Linked DNA regions of Homo sapiens: region 1 is linked to region 2. Evidence: promoter capture Hi-C in 16 types of primary human blood cells and fetal thymus (Javierre and others, 2016). All regions are on one chromosome and are shown on one strand. The core of a region is centred on a gene start or on the middle of the fragment in contact, and the rest is flanking DNA. Distances in the headings are between cores, read along the strand shown.

Evidence for each region. Contacts are between HindIII fragments. The CHiCAGO score rates a contact against its expected background, and 5 or more counts as called.
Region 1: the fragment with the promoter of H3C6 here is called in contact with a fragment that was not itself captured in region 2 in 2 of 17 cell types (fetal thymus and total B cells); the score reaches 9.0 in fetal thymus.

What each region holds. Positions count from the first base shown.
Region 1 is chr6:26,222,792-26,229,868 of GRCh38, reverse strand. It overlaps H3C6 (H3 clustered histone 6), which reads right to left and starts at 4,734. Exons shown (of 1, transcript NM_003532.3): 1 at 4,253-4,734. The coding sequence starts at 4,714. The coding sequence ends at 4,304. RefSeq lists enhancers at 3,492-4,107, 4,108-4,724. The HindIII fragment of the contact is 11,157 bases long and covers 1-6,841 here.
Region 2 is chr6:27,175,820-27,182,143 of GRCh38, reverse strand. TRI-AAT5-2 (tRNA-Ile (anticodon AAT) 5-2) reads left to right here and starts at 4,856; the gene lies at 4,856-4,929. RefSeq lists enhancers at 3,699-3,758, 4,109-4,208, 4,399-4,598, a silencer at 4,801-4,950 and a cis regulatory region at 3,940-5,017. The HindIII fragment of the contact is 232 bases long and covers 4,331-4,562 here.

The DNA.
Region 1 (7,077 bases), core at 3,485-5,984, 950 kb after region 2:
GCCTTCTGGGTTCCAGTGATTCTCTTGCCTCACTCTCCCGGGTAGCTGGGATTACAGTCACACGCTACCATACCTGGCTAATTTGTTTTTGTATTTTTAGTAGAGAGGGGGTTTCACCATGTTGTTCAGGCTGGTCTCAAACTCCTGATCTCAGGTGATTTGTCCACCTCGGCCTCTCAAAGTGCTAGGATTACAGGTGTCAGCCACCACGCCCGGCCCATTTTCAAAAACAAAAACCAAATATGCCTTATGAAAAAAGTCACTGGCTTCTCATAGGTTCAAGGGAAAGCCCTGTAGCATCTTAGCCCCTTTTCATAATACTCTCTGCTGGCACTCACAGACACTATAACAATGTAATCTTTCTATTTCTTCTTCTTCTTCTTCTTCTTTATTATTATTATTATTATTATTATTTTTTACAACTTTGTTCAGGAACAATTCCCTGTGAGAATCTTTCTAATACTTCCAATTCCTTCTGAAATTACATCTCCATGCAAAAATCCCTCTAATTCAAAACATAAACTTATCTCTGAAAATGTGCTTTCATGACATTTAATAGTTGAGAACAATTATTATCAATAGAAAAATTTTAATGCATCTATTATTTTCTCCCATTAACTAAACTGAACTCTAGAGCATTTGTCTTATTTTCCACTACTCTAGGGGCGTGTGTGTGTGTGTGTGTGTGTGTCTGAATTAAAAAATTCCATCAGTTGGGTTACATTATTGTCAGATACTCATCAAATTCAGTGGTTTCATTTTCTGTTTTCCTGTGTGGGAAAAGAAGAGTAACAAATTTCTCTGCCCCTTTCATGACCCTTGTTTCCATGGCCTGATTTACAGACTACCTTATCTTCGGAAGTATACCATTTTATATATATACAATTTTTAGTGGGGGCAACTACAAAATAAAAACAAAGAAAAAAAATTTCACCGTTGCCTTGCAAACTCCAAAATGTTACATATCAATATTTACTGTTGGCAGGTCGAGTCGGGTGAGTATGGAGAAATAATAAAATGGGATTTCTGAATTGTCTTGAGTTTTAGCTATTATCTTTATAATATGAAGAAGCTATTGGTTATTCAGAGATTACATACTTGTTTTATTTTAATTATAAGTACTTGCAGGCAACTATGTAACTGTGAAATGGATATATACTATATAGTGTACCAACAAGTACATAGAAAGTATGATCTTACAGGGGTCAGATTTGAGATCTTCCCCAAATAAAATCACAATTTATTTTAAAGACATCTGGTATTATTTACTACTATCTCAGTGTATGCCTTTGAAAAAAGTTGCCTGTGTATGTGTGGTTAAATCAAGGCTACTATTTGAATAGTATGCAGAAAGGCTAAAATTTGTCAGTGTTAATGTCATATTTTCCTGTATGTACATCAGTTACATTTCTGTGCAATTTGCAGTACTAATTATAATATAATAGAACTTCACAATCATATAAGACCCTGTAAAGTTCATTTTCTTATTATTAGTATTGTTATTTGAGATGGAGTCTCTCCCTGTCACCCAGGCTACAGTGCAGTGGTGCAATCTCAGCTCACTGCCAGCTCTGCCTCCTAGGTTCAAAGATTCTTCTGCCTCAGCCTCCTGAGTAGCTGGGATTACAGGTGTCTGCCACCATGCCCAGCTAATTTTTGTATTTTTAGTAGAGATGGTGTTTCACCATGTTGGCCAGGCTGGTGTTATTATTTTTTTAAGATGGAATGTTGCTTTGTCACCCAGCCTAGAGTGGAGTGGCATAGTCTCAGTTCACTGCAGCCTCTGCCTCCTAGGTTTAAGTGATTCTCCTTGCCTCAGCATCCCAAGTAGCTGGGATTACAGGCAAGTGCCACCATGCCCGGCTAATTTTTGTATTTTTTTAGTAGAGACGGGGTTTATCCATATTGGCCAAGCTGGTCTTGAACTCCTGATTTTAGGTGATCTGCCTGGCTTGGCCTCCCAAAGTGCTGGGATTACAGGCATGAGCCACCCTGCCTGGCCTAAGACCCTGTAAATTTTAAAACATCCATTTATTTTATTGTGTATGAAAAATTTAAACATGTTAGTAGCTCTTCCAGGTGATAAAGCCCTCAGGAGTAACTGATGAGGATTCTGCTGAGGCTGTTTATTTAAAACAGTAATGCCTAGTGGGGAAAGTTTTGGCTCCAGCACTATCTGAAATTTTCTTAGTTTCAGTTTTTAAATTTGTTTTTGATAATAGATAACTATTGAACTTACATTTTTGGAGGCTTCATAAAATACTGCATGACTTCTGGCCCATTGCAGCCACTCAATAAGTGTGGATTTTTCCTATTTAGAAAAACTATATATTAAAATTATATAAACTTTATCTAATCTTTTATTTTTGTAAATAGGAATGCACTCAATGTTAAATTCTGTTCAGTAATCTTTTATTTTACATCTCAACTTGACTAAATTTCCAGAGGCTTTGTTTTAGGCAAATGACCATGCTAGATGTTCTGGTGGATTTAATGATATAAAAAGATGCATTCTGTGCCCACCAAGTCCAAGTCCTCACGTACTGAATTCCAGTAGCTGTAAGAGAAATACAGGTTAAAACTTGTTGAGCTAGAATCTTAAAGAAAGTACAGGATACAGGAAACAACATTCAAATAGAGAATGCTTCTATCTAGCATAATAGGATGTTCACTATGTTACAAATATCTGACAGTAGTTACCTTAATTATGGATAGTTAGGCTGTTTTCCTCACGCACTGAATCTCCAATTCACAAGACCCACATCTTCATGTCTGACAGGCTTCCATGAACAAAAATTTCTTCCATAAATCTCCAGGACTTCTTACTATGGCTACCTTGGCCTGCAGAGCTATTTACAGCTTTGTCACTATTAATTTTACCACATGACTAACCTCTTTCCTTAGTGCAACTAGTGGGAAAAGAGCACATTCAAAAAAGTTAGTAGAAATTTCTCAATGAGTTAAAAATACTGCACCCCATATCAAAACTGAGGAATTTGCTGAAATGTTTAAATAAACAAAATTCTTCCAAATAGCATGCAGTATCCCATATAGTACATACACCCTTCTGTATTTCCAAATAACAGCCTGTATGATTTCGTAACAGAATTCCTTATTTTCCTTCCCTTCACCTACCAGTTTCGAAGCTGTGCCTTTGTATGGAAAGGAAAGGCAGAATATTTTCTGTAAGAACTTTGAAGCCGTCCAAGGATTTTCATGTTTTGTTGATAAATATGGGGTACTTTTAATGAGATTTGATTAAGACAGGGTATTTACTAAAGTTGAAAAGTTCTTTTAAGATATCAGCCGGAAGGCCGGGCGAGGTGGCTCATGCCTGTAATCCCAGCTACTCGGAAGGCTGAGGCAGGAGAATCGCTTGAACCCGGGAGGCGGAGGTTGCGGTGAGCCGAGATCGCGCCAATGCACTCCAGCCTGGGCAACAAGGGCGAAACTCCGTCTCAAAATAAATAAATAAATAAATAAATAAATAAATAAATAAATAAATAAGAAAAGAAAAAAGCAAACAAAAGATATCAACTGGAAAGTTGAAAAGGCTCATGATTTCTGCATTTTCCTTTCGCACTCAGGTTTGAGACACACCCATCTGCACCTTCGTTGCTTTGACTCCTGCAGTTTAGAACCTATGCAAGGCTGTCAAGTCTGCAAGAGCTGTGTGTTAGTGCCACGGGTCTAGGTGTTCCAGCTAATAACCTTAGCCTTAGACCAGTATCAGGCGCACAGAGAGTAACGTTGACCGCACCCAAGGCACCGACCGTCGCCGGCAAGTAGCTGGGTCTCAAAACACTAGTGGAGTAAGGCAGCCTGATGCAGATCAAAAGCGCTGGCCCCTCGGGCAAGGTCAAATAAACATCAAGGAAAGGCAAAACCAAGGCGTTGAAAGCCTATGCAGTTAAGACCTAAAATGCAGGCCACCACATGAAAGAGCGTTGAGCCAGAAAACAAGAGGATGGGTTAAGCAGGGTACAATTAAGTGGCCAGGAGTTTAGAAAACGAGAACAATGTACAAGAAAGCAGCAGAGGGCCTGAACAGCAAAACAAAGCCAGCTAAACCAATGGAGAACAGCGTAGGGAGGCCCAGCCCTAGGCGAAAACCTGAGGGAGCGCTTAAATTTGGAAATTTAAATGAAGCATCGAGGGAACTGAATGCCACTATTTCAAATGTCTATTTGGATCAGTGCAGTTTAGTGGTCTAATGCGTCTCAAAGGATTACAGCCCTTTTCACGGACAAAGTGGTTGGCTCTGAGAAGAGCCTTTGGATTTAAGGTTTGTACTCAAAACAATTCACGCCCTCTCCCCACGAATGCGGCGGGCAAGCTGGATGTCTTTAGGCATGATGGTCACGCGTTTGGCATGAATAGCGCACAGGTTGGTGTCCTCGAAAAGCCCCACCAAGTAGGCCTCGCAGGCCTCCTGCAGCGCCATCACCGCGGAACTCTGGAAGCGCAGGTCGGTCTTGAAGTCCTGAGCTATTTCTCGCACCAGGCGCTGAAACGGCAGCTTCCGGATTAGAAGCTCGGTAGACTTCTGGTAGCGACGGATCTCGCGCAGAGCCACGGTGCCAGGGCGGTAGCGATGGGGCTTCTTCACGCCGCCCGTGGCCGGAGCGCTCTTGCGAGCTGCCTTAGTGGCCAGCTGTTTGCGCGGTGCTTTACCGCCTGTGGATTTACGAGCCGTCTGCTTAGTACGCGCCATAGTTCATCTGCAAAGTAAATGAGTTAGGAAGATTGGTTTGCCCCTCTATATAGGAACAGAATCACTCTGATTGGATTGTGGACGATCCCTGTTAGTGATCGGTTGCTAAATTCCGGAAGTGGCCGTAGAGATTCACGATTGGTTTATTTTTTCAGTGCAAGATTCTGATTGGTAAATTTGGATAGAGAACTGGCTCTTTCAAACAAGTCGTTTTCCGTTACAGGTTTCTTTGATGTTTCACGTAGACCATGACCTGCAAAGACATTGATCATTTAACTTAATAGACTGATCTGTTATCCTGTTTAGCTATAAAAAATCGAATGTGTTTGCGTTAGAAAGTGCTTTAGAATTTTTTTTCCAAAATCTCCGCTGCTTTTTTCTGCATTTTCCTGAAGTTTTTCCCTTCCTTATTCACTCATTTAAAATCCGTTGCCTAAGTATCTCTCAATGATTCCTCGTTTCATTATAGAGTACAAGGCTAATTCACTCAAACAAGGTTTTCTAAGATACACTGTTAAGCATAAGGAACTTTGTGTTTCATTTGTGTTATAGTAAAATTCTAATATCCTGGAATCCCTACCTCTGTAATATCGGGTTTGACTCAAAGAACTTAACACTATTATTTCGTTTTGTTGAAATTAAAACGTCCAGACATAATGGCAAGAGCCGTCAAAAAAAGTATTTTCAATTTAAAATCTTGAAAAAGATGGCGGCGAAGAGAGTGTTAGAAGGTTGTTTCTCTGTAAGACAACAATGGCGCAGTTTCTCCGGATCCCTGCGGGAGAGAGCTGAGGTGCACCGAACAATTTAAGACACATCCAACAGAACTTTTATAGGAACTGGACTCACCCAAATAACAGGACTTCTTAACTTGGTTTTCGCTTCCACACTCAACAGCTCCCAATTACTTTGAAAAAGTAACAAATGTTTACTGGAAAAGATTCTTAAAGAATGACATTACAGCCTAACACTATTGTGAATTAACCTATCGGATTCCCTGTAAGGTGTTCTTTTCCTAGCCAATAAAAAGAGCAGTTTGGGAATTCCTAATTTACATACTTTTAATCTATTGGCTACTTTGGTTCAGGCAGAGTTTTGATTTACAAGTTCGCGTTTGTGTAAGCGTACTATAAATATTTCAGAGAGGGATAGTGCGCGTGCGTGCCCGTTGCAAGGTCTAGTTTCTTTTTGTTTTTCTTTCCCAGTAGGTTTTCTTTCTCATTGGAAAGCTATTTTGTAAAGTGTAGCAGGTTCGCAATGACGCTGGCATGTAGTCCAAGGCGATTGACATCATGAATATGCTGGAGCCCCCGTCCTCCAGGGAGGGGAAACGGCTAAACCAAATTTATCACTGCCCGCAAATGCCCGCGGATGTCTGCAAGCTGGAGTGGAGAGGAGACAAAGGATGCTTTGTGCATTCCTGCTCATTCCCTGAATTCTGTTAAACCTGCCCTATTTTAGGGCATTCATCAAAATTCTGCTAACCACAGGATTGATACAATTGCACCTTTCAAGTTAGTGTCTATTTTGCAAATTTGAATTATCTTAGGACTCGTGGGCAAGTCTTGACTGAAATTACACATTGTCGTGCGTTTCAATCTCACATCTGAAATATATATGAGTCCCTTGCTTCTCTCCTTTTCAGAAAAAGAAAATTCTGTACACTTTAAATCACGGTAAAACGGTTAGGTATGTTGGCAAAATTGTTTCATAGGAAGCAAGGGAAGAACTGAAATCCTTTTGTATAATATGATTACGTATTTGTGGGCTGGGCCGTTTGTTAATGAGAGCTATGCACCCCCTGTGCTTTTCCTCTCCACACTCCCTACATCTCATCTTCTGAGGCCCAAGACCTGTTTATTGATATTATCTTCTGTTTTCTCATTTTCATTTTAGTTTTTTCATTTCTATTATTAGAATGTTAATATCTACATCTAAAAAATGTTTCCAAAATCAAAAGATAAACTTTAGGTCACAGTCAGTGAGAACCATTAAGGAAATTCCATCTTTATGCCCCATAGTTCTATTTCCTCCCCAGTGTTCTTAAATCTGTCAATCCGGTGTTTTGCCATTGGAACCTACCTTCAGTTCCTTTCATAATCCTCATCTCTAAATATGTGTAAAGCTTTATTTTAGAAGTCAGTGCAAAATTTACATGATTACATAAGAACTTAGCAGCTCACTTGTATTAATCAGTAATTTCCATCACTATTTCCATACCTGAACACAATTTCCCATAGGATCTGTGTTATGTGATAAAACAGTCAGAAACCAGTTGTGGCTACTGAGCATTTGAAATGTGGTTGTTGCTGCTGAGGACTGACTTTCTTTTTTTTTTGAGAAGGAGTCTTGCTCTGTCACTC
Region 2 (6,324 bases), core at 3,197-5,696:
CTAAGTTCCTGCTTTGTTTCAGGTAAAGGCAAAGACAGGATACCTTCAATTCGTTCGGATCCTATCTTTCGTTCACCTTTACTGATTAGGTGTCCTAGATATTTTACCTCAGATTCTATGAATTGGATGTTGTTCTTTGAGACCCGTAATCCTTGTCCCCTTAGGAAATTTAGGAAGTTAACTGAAATTGCTGTTACTTGATCCTTGTTATCTCCTGAAATGAGCAGGACATCTACGTATTTGAGTAGGCATATGGATGAAGGCAGGGAGAAGTTTTCTAGGACTTGCTCTAAAATATGACCAAATAGATTTGGGGACTCTGTAAACCTTGGGGCAAGACTGTCCATCGACCGGAGTGAGGGTCCTCTCACTCAAAGGCAAATTTGTCCCAGCTGTCCTCTGCTAAAGGGCAAGCCCAAAAGGCATCATTTAAATCTGTCACCGTGAACCATTGGTGGTTATGCGGGATTCTACTGAAAATGGTGTAAGGATTGGGAACAACAGGGTGGATGGTCTGAACTATTTGGTAAATAGCCCAGAGGTCTTGCACTAGCTGGTATGACCCGTCTGACTTCCTTACAGGCAATATTGGAGTGTTATAAGGGGACATACAGGGTTCAAGTCTTTCAATTACAGGTTTTAAAACTATCCTGGTTTTAAACCTATCCTGGCTTCCAAGGGAATAGGGTATTGTTTTCGTGGACAAGGCTTTCAATTATAGGTTATAAACCTATCCTGGCTTCCAAGGGAATAGGGTATTGTTTTTGTTTCACTATTTCCCCAGGAGTTTTTAATTTGACATGGATTGGAGGAACCCATCCTCGATTCCCTTCTTTCGACCATACGTTGGGATGGATGCGGCTTTCTTCTGAAGTGGTGAGTACGTTTAAGGAAGTAAGGAGTTTTCCTTGATTAACATATAGGCCTGTGCCTAACCTTAACATTAAGTCCCTTCCTAATAAATTAGTTCCTGCTTCAGGAATTAAGAAGAACTTAGTAGCAACCGACTTATTCTTATATTTGACTTCGGTTTCCTCTAGAATTTTTGCTCTGAATCCTTCCCCTTTAACTCCTGAGACAGTAAGGTCTTCGGCTGAACAGGATAAATCTGATGGGAGAAAACATAGGCAGGAGCCAGCTGCTCCCGAATTGACCAGGAAAGTGACTATTTCCAATTTGGGTCCCACCGTTAAATTTATCAAGGGCTCTTGGTGGGACTCAAGATGGAAGACGTAGAGCCCCTGAGCCCACTGTTCTTCAAATGTCATGAGTGAAAGGACTTTCTTTTCCCTCTCCCATTCGGGACATTTCCTCTTAAAATGTCCTGGCTTTCCACATCTGAAACATCTGTTTTTCCTTCTCCCCCTCCTGGTTCCCTGATTCTCAGGTTTCGTCCCTTTGCTTCCTGTATAGGGTCTGGCAGCCTGGTACTCAGAAGGTTTACAAGTTCTATTTCCCTGGGATGCCTGTTGAAAAGTTCCCTGTTGTAGGGTGGACAGCATAATTTTTGCCTTTTGCTTCTGCCTTTCCTCATCCCTCCGTACATATACCTTTTGGACCTCTCTTTAAAGTTCCTCTATGGGACAGTCTTTCTAATTTTCTATCTTTTATAATTTCTTTATAGTGTCTGGCCAACTATTGGTGACAAAGTGGAGCTTTAACATCCTTTGTCCTAGTGGGTCCTCTATGTCCAAACCTGCGTATTTTCTTATCTGTTCCTTAAGTCTGTTTAAGAATTCCATGGGCCCTTCATCTTTCTCTTGCTGTACATTAAATGCTTGGGAAATGTTTTGGGTTGGAGGAACTGATTCCTGAATCCCTTTAATTATCATATCCCTATCTCTCATGTTTTCCCGGTGAGCCGCACTGTTGTTATCCCATTGAGGGTCCTGGGCCGGGAATTTATGCTCTGCTGCAAGGACATTCTGACGAGGGGGGTGCTTGCGCTCCCAGGCTATCATAGCAGCCTTGCAGATCATGGTTCTTTCCTCTCCTAAGAAGAGAATACCTAGAATAGACATCAATTCAGCCCAGGTATACAGTTGTGGCCCCATAAATTGGTCAATTTGATCTGAGACTCCAAAAGGGTCATCTAACAGTGGTTTGAGTCTCCTTTTTAGATTTCTAACTTCTTCACTAGCTAAGGGGGGCATTTACGAAGCCAATATCCCCTCCTCCTAGTGGTACTTCCCTCAAGGGAAAAAAGGTTGGGGCAGACTTCTTTGAAGAGAGGAAAGGAAAGTTTTGAATATCCCTTTGGCATTGTTCTATTTGCCACTGGAGCTTTCCTAAGGGAGGGGCATGTTCGAGTGGCTGTCCAACGGGGGTGTGTGGTGTCAAGGCCCATGGGGCAGGGTTATATGGGGGAGGGACGGAGTTTTAGCTTGGGGCAGAGGGGTAGGTGCGGGAAGGGCTGTTGTTCAGTCGGGGCGGAGAGGTAGGCAGGGGAAGGTGGTCTAGAGGATCCCGTGCATCTTTGGATATAGAATATGACTTAGCTAGGTCGTCTTTGGGGGGTTTTGAGTTTGGCTTTGCTTTTTCGTCCTTTAAGGGATAGAGAAGGACAGGTCCTTGTCTCCAACATAGAGCATAATCTATCTCCTCTTGAGAAACTGGGCTTTTATCATTGACATACTGGATCAGGAGTTGGCATATCCAGTCCTCGTCCCACCCAAACTTTGGCCAAAAGACCGAAGGTCTGAGGATGGGTTCCTTAGTCCAAATAAAACAGCAGTACTTTATCATTTGCTGTCTTTTCTTGTGTTTGGTCCTTTCATTATCCTTCCAGTATTTTAACATTAGGCCTAGGGGACTGTGAGGGAAATTTTATTGTCTGCTTGGCCTTTTAGAGTCTCTGTCTTACTTGGGGTTATTTCCCATCCTGGAGGTTGGTGAGGCTTAATATATAATATTAGAGATCTCTTGCACTCCCGTGTCTTAGAGGCTCAACCTCCCCTTTTTCCACTGGAGGTTTCTTGCACTCTCGTGAGCACTCACTTCGTCCTTATTGGCTGCTTCCCTTGCGGGAATTTTAGGCACCTCTTAGCATTGGCGGGTAGGTGGAATCCCCTGATTGGAAAACCGCCCTAAGCCGTATGAGGTGACCACGGAACCAAGTCCGGACTCCGCACTCGCCTTGCGCCCAGTGGTATGTCTCACTCACACACTTTAAAACTCCAGAGACCCCAACCACCAAGGAAGGCTTTGCCGCCCCAATAGCAACGTTTCTTACCTTGGTCTGTGCACAGAGTTACCTGTGGTCGCCATGGAATTCTTTTTTTTTTTTTTTTTGAGACGGAGTCTCGCTCTGTTGCCTAGGCTGGAGTGCAGTGGCATGATCTCGGCTTACTGCAACTTCTGCCTCCCGGGTTCAAGTGATTTTCCTGCCTCAGCCTCCCAAGTAGCTGGGACTAAGGGCGCGCACCACCACGCCCGGTTAATTTTTGTATTTTTAGTAGAAACGGAGTTTCACCGTATTGACCAAGCTGGTCTCACAGAATTCTTAAGGATCCTCCCTACTGTCCGCGTTGCTGAGAGTCCGGATTTATTCGTCACTTCGGGCGGGACTCGATCCTCCGCTCCTGGGGCCACCACGAGGCAATGGGACGCGTCTCCCCATGAAAGATAATCGCTAGCCCCTCCCGAAGGAGAATGGGATCCCGGACGAGTCCCTAAGATTTACTGGAAACAAGTGCTTGGTGTAGCCAAAAGAAACCCTCACTTAGAAAATTCCTCAGCAAGGCATCTTTACTTCTGCAGAAGGGTGCTCCTTGCCTGTTACAATTGCAAGAGCACACCAAACAAAGGAGGTAAGGAGTTTTTAATCCTAACGCAGTTCCTGTTTCTGTGTCCTTCCCCTATTGGCTGGGGTTGGACCGCACAATCTAAGCTGATCCCGATTGGCTAAGACTTAAACTTTGGCAAATAGGGTAAACCCTGGATTTGCGAAAAAAAGGAGTGTATGTGTGTGGTGGGGGGCGGGGGGCAGGCAGGATTGACGTACAACTTTTGCAACTTATGACAAGAAAGTTGAGTCTTTGAAGAGGGACTTAGTTGTCCCAACACTCTGAGTTGCCTGACCCGGTCCTGGGCTCAGTTCCTCCCAGATACCGGCGTTTATCATTGGTGTAGATAATGGTGACTTCCCTTGTCTTAGATGTGGGTGTCTTGGTCTTCCCGGGACGGAAGGAGTCAGAGACTCTTGAAAGGAGCCGTCCCGCTGGTCCTTTCATTTACGCCGATGCCAGCCCGGCACTCGAGCATCACCAAGGGCCCGGTGCCCGGCACTGCAGGGCCAAGTCTGATTTTATCGTTTGTGGAGCTGCAAGCTTAGGACGCACAGCTGTGAATTTCGGGTCCTGGTGACTGCGGAACCACCGCGAGGCCAGGAGGCGAGACAGTGCACTTTCCCAGGTTCCCAGGCCTAAGAGCCCACCTGGCTGGAATGGTCTCAAGGAGCAGAGAGGAATCCGCACCCTCCGAGTCCTCCGAACCCTCCGATCCTGCGAACCTGCGGCGGCTCTGCGGTTGGTTCCGTGAGGAACTGGCCGCGATCGCAAGCTTGGAGCTGCTTTTTGGTTTGTTCTGAGTCCTTCACCTGGTGAGGGGAAGGAAGCCCTGCTTGGGGTCGTTGAATCTGAGTTTTCTCCAGTCAGAATCAGTGGTTTGAGATTGTTTTCCCTGAAACAGCATGGTTTTCCTGTGCCTACAGTGAGGAATTCTCCTTTTCTTAAAAAAAAATATATTTTATTAATAAAAGGGAAAGTAACGCTTCTATTACAAAAAAAAAAAAATTCAGCGGGCATGGATCAGGTATGATTTAAATAAACATAAGAAAAGACCCTCCCACCAAGGAGGCCGGTTAGCTCAGTTGGTTAGAGCGTGGTGCTAATAACGCCAAGGTCGCGGGTTCGATCCCCGTACGGGCCACTTCCGTGGGTTTGTTTTTTTTTTTTTTCTTCTTTTTCGTTTTTATTTTACACCGACCACACCTCGCTTGTAAACTTCGGTTTTACATCGAACTCCGTAGCCTCGCCTATCCATTTATAAATGTAGTTGCACTAGCTAGACAGGAATTTTTTTCTTTTTTCTTTTTTTTTTTTCTTAAATCGACCACACCTGGATTGTATACTACCGTCTTACATCCAACTCCGGAGCGCTGCCTATCCATTTGTAAATGTGGTCGCAATAGCTAGACAAGCATTAGATTTGCACGTTTTTTATTCTTTTGAAGAAATAATATACGAGTTAGGATGAAAAGGTTTTTCTTATTTGTTTGTTTTGTTTGTTTTTGAGACAGAGTCTTGCTCTGACGCCCAGGCTGGAGTGCAGCGGCGCGATCTTGGCTCGCTGCAACCTCCGCCTCCCAGGTTTAAGCAATTCTTCTGCCTCAGCCTCCCAAGTAGCTGGGATTACAGGCGTGTGCCACGATGCCTGGGTAATTTTTGTATTTTCAGTAGAGACGGAGTTTCACCATGTTGGCCAGGCTAGTCTTGAACTCCTGACCTCAGGTGATCCGCCTGCCTTGGCCTCCCAAAGTGCTGAGATTACAGGCATGAGCCATCGCGCCCGGCCAGGATGAAGATTTTTTAAAGGAAATTCAATGAGGTGGGTGGGTGATTTTAGAAAAGGGTTAAATAAGAATTCGATAATGTCTTGTATTATTTTGGGAAAAAAAAACTTTCTGAGATAATACTATTTTGACATATTTTAAGCTTTTGAAAGAGATCATATTGATTCTTCTCCTAGTTGATCACTCAGTTGGTTAAATTGTTGTGTTTGTAGCTTTGAGGGCGAGGGTTCAGTCTACGTGGGAAAAAGCCAGACTTGTGACGTTGCTTTCTGCCAAGCTCCAGACACTCAGCCACAACTGCTCAGTGTTAAAATAGATCCGTGGTTAGCCTTAGGCTTATATTTGACAGCTGTTCTCGATGTGGCCCATACCAAGCCATTTACGATGCGGCCCTTACCAAGCCATTTACAGTTCATTAAACAATTTTTGAACATATATCGTAAAAGCGATAGGTTTGAAATGTGACAAAAATGGAGTGCGTGGTGGGAGACAGGAGGGCCAGAGCCTCTGGGTCCACTCTAAGTCTTAGCACCTCGCTCTTTCTGTCCTGCGCTTTCTTTTTTTTTTTCTTTTTTTCTTTTTCTTTTTTTTTTTTTTTTTTGAGACGGAGTCTCGCTCTGTCGCCCAGGCTGGAGTGCAGTGGCGCAATCTCGGCTCACTGCAAGCTCCGCCTCCCGGGTTCACGCCATTCTCCTGCCTCAGCCTCCCAAGTAGCTGGGACTACAGGCGCCCGCCACTACGCCCGGCTAATT